2 separate regions of the Homo sapiens genome follow, and region 1 is linked to region 2. The links are contacts of gene promoters, found by promoter capture Hi-C in blood cells and fetal thymus (Javierre and others, 2016). All regions are on one chromosome and are shown on one strand. Each heading gives the region's core, a stretch centred on a gene start or on the middle of the fragment in contact. The rest is flanking DNA. Distances are from core to core; before and after follow the strand shown. Region 1 overlaps OSER1 (oxidative stress responsive serine rich 1). Region 2 holds the start of MYBL2 (MYB proto-oncogene like 2).

Region 1 (3,362 bases), core at 507-3,006, 530 kb before region 2:
GGGATTACTGTGTTCTGTTTAGCTTTTTAGTGTCTTGTTTGGTTCTTGTCTCTAATTCACTTAGCAGTTTTGAGTATCTTTTCTTTTCATTCAGTTCTTTATTTAATTTTATTTTATTTTATTTATTTATTTATTTATTTTTGAGACGGAGTCTCGCTCTGTTGCCCAGGCTGGAGTACAGTGGCGTGATCTCAGCTCACTGCAAGCTCTGCCTCCCAGATTCACGCCATTCTCCTGCCTCAGCCTCCCAAGTATCTGGGACTACAGGCGCCCACCACCACGCCCGGCTAATTTTTTGTATTTTTAGTAGAGACGGGGTTTCACCGCTTTAGCCAGGATGGTCTCAATCTCCTGACCTCGTGATCCACCTGCCTCGGCCTCCCAAAGTGCTGGGATTACAGGCGTGAGCCACCGCGCCTGGCTATTTAAATATTTTATAAATAGTTATCTTACATAGTGTGTCCAGTAATTCCCAGTATCTGAAAACCTCAGGGGTTGTAAATATTGTTAGTTTTTTGGTTTTGATTGATTGGCTGTTACCAATGATAGAAATGAATCAGAAATCTATTTAATAGTAATGGCATAATGGTCATTTGTAACGTTAGCCTCACAGTGGTTCTGAAGCTGCTATATTCAGGTTTAGGGCACAATATTTAGGCTTCACAGGATCGGTTTCAGTTGTATGTTTGAGGTGCTTCCCTCAGACCCACTGGTCAAAGGCTCCCAAGCTTAGAGTTGGAACAGGGCAGGTGTTCTGTCCCAAATGTTTGGCCCAGGTGATTCAGTTAAAAAATACCATTATCTCACCTCGTTCTATAGCTTGCTAATAAGATGATGTTGAAGTTGTTGAGACACAAAGACTTAGGCAGCATGAAAATGGAGGAAGGTGCATCTCTTGCAGGAAATTTATGAGCTTAGACTCATAAAGCTGAGGGAAGGTAAATTTCCTACTGTCATAAAGAATCTGTTTAGGACAGCTCCATATCCCAACATCTTCTTGTATATTTTTTTTCCTCTTTAGGTCTACAAGGAAGTCTTCACGAGGAGCAGTGAGAACTCAGCGTCGTCGACGTTCTAAGTCTCCTGTCCTTCATCCTCCAAAGTTTATACATTGCAGTACAATAGCGTCTTCTTCCAGCAGTCAACTCAAGCACAAAAGCCAGACTGACTCACCTGATGGCAGCAGTGGGCTGGGAATTTCATCCCCTAAAGAGTTCAGTGCAGGAGAAAGCTCTACTTCTCTCGATGCTAATCACACAGGGGCAGTCGTTGAGCCTTTGAGAACTTCTGTTCCAAGGCTCCCATCAGAGAGTAAGAAGGAAGACTCCTCTGACGCTACCCAAGTCCCCCAAGCAAGTCTCAAAGCCAGTGATCTCTCTGACTTTCAATCAGTTTCCAAGCTAAACCAGGGCAAGCCATGCACATGCATAGGCAAGGAATGCCAGTGTAAGAGATGGCATGATATGGAAGTGTATTCCTTTTCAGGCCTGCAGAGTGTCCCTCCCTTGGCTCCAGAACGAAGATCCACACTTGAGGACTACTCTCAGTCGCTGCACGCCAGAACTCTGTCTGGCTCTCCCCGATCCTGTTCTGAGCAAGCTCGAGTCTTCGTGGATGATGTGACCATTGAGGACCTGTCAGGCTACATGGAGTATTACTTGTATATTCCCAAGAAAATGTCCCACATGGCAGAAATGATGTACACCTGATAGCAAGAAGCTAATTCATATGCTTTAAACCAATGAAGGCTTGTCAAAGAGATTTAGTTAATGGCAGACCTTGTGGCCACTTTGTGTGAGAAGACATCTCTTTCTGCTCACTGTGCTTGCAATAAAAACTTTTCTTGGCATCTCAGTTAATCTTCATTCTTTCAACTTACTCTCTTGAGTTCTTACATACACTTCAAGGCGAGCAGATCAAAGAAAAATCCCCCTTATTTAGAAATGTTCCTGGGGGATGAAGAAACCATAATTACTTGAGACTGGCAGCAGTGGGTATATGGTAAAAGCCTTTGTAAAACAGTGCATTTTTCAGATTTGTTTAAGGTTTGCTAGCCAAGGAAAGTAAAATGTGATTTTGTAACTGCACTAAACATTTGTCATGCTGTAGTTGCCAGCCCAGAATATTAGAAGTTACAAGACTGATTTAAACCGTCTCTGATTTAATGCAAGATATATTGTGTCTATAAAGGTTTCTCTTGTTATTGTTAAGCCAGAGATCTAAGGTTTAGATTCAATTTGAATAAACTAGCTGGCCTGCCCTCTATTGTTTGAGAGAGTTATTAACCATCACTAAATAAGCCCCTGCTGGTGCTATTCATCCTAAGACATGTTACATGCAGTTTCAAGTAAGCAGCTTGGAATGGGCTGCTTCAGTTGGAGGGAGGGGGTGTAATATTTGAAACGAGTGTGTGTCTTCACCATCTCCAGCATTTTAAATATATGGCGGTTTTTTTTTTTTTTTTTTGTTATCAGTTGTAATACAGGTCTCATACCTCAGTTTCAGATGTTATAGATGGTTACCTCTTTGAGCTGCCCTGTCACCCCAGCAACCCTAAAAGAGAATTTTGTACATTCTGTATCCCACAGATTTGGTCAGCCATTTCAAAATTCCCTCCAGTTTGGTAAAAAAAAAATCTGTCTTCGGTTTCAGCTGGATGATGAATCCTTGTTTTTCAGGTGGCTCCAAAAAGAATGTTGCATGTGTTCAGACCATCCTGAGCAGAGCCACCAAATTTAGTGACAGTGTCTAGCCATGTTAGCAATAATGTTAACAGAAGCTTTTGTTTAAATTACAAAATACATTTATACTATTTACTAAAACTGCGCTGGCTGTGGTTGATTCATGATAATGGGATGTGGGCTTCAACAAATAGGTGATTTGTACTTGGGGGAGAGGGGAAGGGTGTTTACTAGAAAAACCCTAAGCTTAAGTAGTAGTGGGAGTCCTCTGCTGGTCATTGGTTTGGTGTGGATTTAGTGACATCTGAAGGCTGTGGTTAAAGCAAGGGAGCAAAATACCTTATCACAGTTCTAGAAGCTGTGACAGATATTTCCTGATAATGGTGACAGAAGGTACACTATTTAGTATATCTAAGGCAGAAATTCTCAAACTTTTTGTAAGCACTTCCTTTACACTGACAAATTCAGGACCCAAAAGGTTTTGTTATAATCTCCAAAAGGATATAAATATTTACCATGTTAGAAATTAAAACTAAGATTTTTTTAAATATTTAAAAACTCATTACAAGCTAACAAAATTTTTGAATGAAAAATAGCTTTTCCAAAACAAAAAATAGAAGAGTGGCATTGTTCTACCTTTTTGCAAATCTTTTTTAATGTTTGGCTTAATTAGAAGACAGA
Region 2 (3,098 bases), core at 1-2,500:
CCCGACGTGGTGACACGTGCCTGAAGTCCCAGCTACTCGGGAAGCTGAGGCAGGAGAATCGCTTGAACCTGGGAGGCGGAGGTTGCAGTGAGCCAAGATCGCGCCACTGCACTCCAGCCTGGGCATCAGAGCGAGACTCCTTCTCAAAAAAAAAAAAAAAAAAAAAAAAGAGGGAACGAAGGTTATCTGAGCTGCAGCGATCCAGGCAGGGAAGAGGTCAGGACCCCACTGTCCTGTCTCCCAGGCAGGCTGAAAAGCTTGGAGCTCAGGCCCCAGGCGCACAGGTGTAAGACAGGGATCTGGAGCCACAGACCTGGCTCCGGGCTCAGCTCTGCCACTTAAGTCTCTGGGGAAATAAGTAAAATGGAGACCGCAGTTCCTGCCTTTGCCCCAGGGACTCTCTCTCTCCCCCGCACCTTCAACCCCAGCTGCCCAAAACTCCTCGTGGGAACAGGAAGAGAGGTCTCAAACCGAACCAAGCTGGGGCGCGGAACCCAGGTGGGAGAGACAAAAGAGCCCCCAACTCAGCACCCTTCTCAGTCCAGGGGAGAGGGCTTGGGGGACTCTGTGCTCCCCGGAATGTTAAGGAGCAAAGCCCACCCACCAAGTTGACCCAAAACTAGGCTGCAACAAGTGCCTCCCAGGCTCGGTCTCCCACTGGCTGGGACTTGAAGACTCCCTCTCGCTCCCAGGGGTCGCCTCCCTCGCCGGCGAAGGCCCTGCCAGCTGACACCGGCCGGCCCACCCCCATCCCGCAATTAGGCGGGAGACAAAATGACATCATGCACGGCTTGGCCCGGGTCCCAAGAGACCCGCCCGTCCCAGCTCCGAGGCCCAACAGGCCTGGGGAGCCGCGAGGGACGCCCAAGAGCCCCCCAGCTTTACGCGCGCCCCTGCCTCAGAGGGCCCAGGACGCAGCATTTCCGCGGAAACACCCCACCCCCAACACACACACACACCCCAGCTTGGTGGGAGCCTGGGGAGGGTCGGGGGTATCTGGGTGGGGGAGGGGTGAGTTAAAGGGAGGGGGAGGGGCCCAAGCCCTCCCGGCTCGTCTCACCAGCGCGTCCGCCGAGACATCCCCCCGGCCCGGACCGCGCCGCGCTCGCCCGCCCGCCGGCAGAGCCCGGAGCGGGAGCCGGGCCGGGGTCAGGACCCGGGCTGCTCCGGCCGCTCCGGGCCCCGGGCCGCGCTCGAAGGCGTCAGCGTGTCAGCAGGTCCCGCGCTCCTCGCTCGCAGGAACTGCAGTCGCCGCCGGCGCGGGTTGAAGCACTTTTCTATCTCCCGCCAAGCGCGTCGGCGCCGCCCAGTCCTGGCGCGCGGGCGCCGGGGGAGGGGCCTGAGTGAGGGGCGGAGCCAGGGGGCGGGGCGGGGCGGGGCCTGCGGGGCGGCACCTGCCCAGACCCTCCAGGGCCGGCTGCAGGACAGGGGCGGCGGCCGCTACTTCGGAGTTGTGGAGCGGGCCGGGATGTGACCGAGGCCTGGCTCACGTGTCAGTCCGGGGCGGCCCAGGAGTATCCCACATAGCGAAGACCGAGGAAGGGGAGCGAGGCGCGAGCATGGGAGAGCCAGCCAGGGAAAGCGCCAGGGCGGAATCCCCCACGCTAGTCCAAGCCACTACTGGGTCCCTAGAGCCGCACCCTAAAGCGGCTCCTCACCCTACCTGTGCCTCTCCCTGCTTCCTCTCCTGCCTCCAAGAGACCCTCCTTAATAGACTTTATTTTTTGTTGTTCATTTTTCTTAGAGGCAGGGTCTTGCTCTGTCGCCCAGGCTGGAGTGCAGTTTCGCGATCATAGCTCACTGCAACCTCCACCTCCTAGGCTCAAGCGATCCTCCTACCTCAACTCACGGGTAGCTAAGACCAGGCACTCGCCACTACACCCGGCTGATTTTTTTTTTTTTTTTTTTTGAGACGGTGTCTCGCTTTGTCGCCAGGCTGGAGTGCAGTGGCGCGATCTTGACTCACTGCAACCTCCACCTCCCGGGTTCAAGCGACTCCCCCGCCTCAGCCTCCCAAGTAGCTGGAACTACAGGCGCACACCACCACGCCCGGCAATTTTTTTTTTTTTTTTTTTTTTTTTTTAGTATTTTAGTAGAGACGAGGTTTCACCATGTTGGCCAGGATGGTATAGGTCTCCTGACCTCGTGATCCGCCCGCCTCGGCCTCCCAAAGTGCTGGAATTACAGGAGTGAGCCACTGCGCTTTTTTTTTTTTTTTTAAGAGAAGGGGGTGTCTTGCTATGTTGCTGTTGCCTAGACTGGTCTAGAAACTCCTGGGCTCAAGAGATCCTGCCGCTTTGTCCTCCCAAAGTGCTGGGATTGCAGGCGTGAGCTCTTTCCAGAATTTAAAACCATCCTCCTCTCCCTCAGGGTAAATTCCTTACTCCACAATCACATTTATCTGATCTTCCAGACCACCACCCAGCCCTGGCCAAAAGAAACGGCCTCTTTGCCTTTGCCTGAGCCATTACCCAGGGCAGGAACACTTCCTGCCCCTCCCACGTGGCTGATTCCTATTTAATTTGGGGTCCACTGCCCACAATCTGCCTGTAGACTTCTGCATTTCCCCCTTTGAACTGGGAGCATCCTGAGGTCCAGGTGGCCTCTCAATGCACACCAGTATCTCCAGGGCCCAGTAGAAGACCTGACATAAGAAGCCCCAGGCAAAGGTTTGTTGCATTGAATTGTTTACCTTGGGTTTAAACTCCCAGAGATTAGCCCAGATTTAGTGGCTCATGCCAGTAATCCTAGCAGTTTGGGAGGCCGAGGTGGGAGAACTGATTCAGTCCAAAAGTTTGAGACCAGCCTGGGGATCAGAGTGAGACCCTGTCTTTACAAAAAATTAAGAAATTACCTGGCTGTGGTGGTGAATGCCTGTAATCCCAGCTACTTGGGAAGCAGAGGCAGGAGGATTGCTTGAGCCCAGGAGTTCGAGGGGCTCAAGCCCTTGTCATCCCGCCACTGCACTCCAGCCTGGGCGACAGACAGTGAGACTGTCTTTCCTTGAGATTTAGCAAAGGTTTTCTATATTAGATTGACATTTACCAAGTACCAAGGATCAAGTCACACTGGACTTCCTGGGAGCAGTGCTGAGAGGA

The links. Contacts are between HindIII fragments. The CHiCAGO score rates a contact against its expected background, and 5 or more counts as called.
Region 1: a contact is called between a fragment that was not itself captured here and the fragment with the promoter of MYBL2 in region 2, in 4 of 17 cell types (monocytes, M0 macrophages, naive CD4 T cells and 1 more). The highest score is 6.2, in monocytes.

The regions. Positions count from the first base shown.
Region 1 is chr20:44,195,399-44,198,760 of GRCh38, reverse strand. It overlaps OSER1 (oxidative stress responsive serine rich 1), which reads left to right. Exons shown (of 4, transcript NM_016470.8): 4 at 1,022-2,822. The coding sequence ends at 1,709. Among named protein-coding and RNA genes, the nearest start is that of JPH2, 9.9 kb to the right of the region's middle. The HindIII fragment of the contact is 2,051 bases long and covers 731-2,781 here.
Region 2 is chr20:43,665,266-43,668,363 of GRCh38, reverse strand. It overlaps MYBL2 (MYB proto-oncogene like 2), which reads right to left and starts at 1,250. Exons shown (of 14, transcript NM_002466.4): 1 at 1,061-1,250. The coding sequence starts at 1,080. RefSeq lists enhancers at 345-394, 1,161-1,455 and silencers at 1,045-1,424, 1,161-1,455. The HindIII fragment of the contact is 3,026 bases long and covers 260-3,098 here.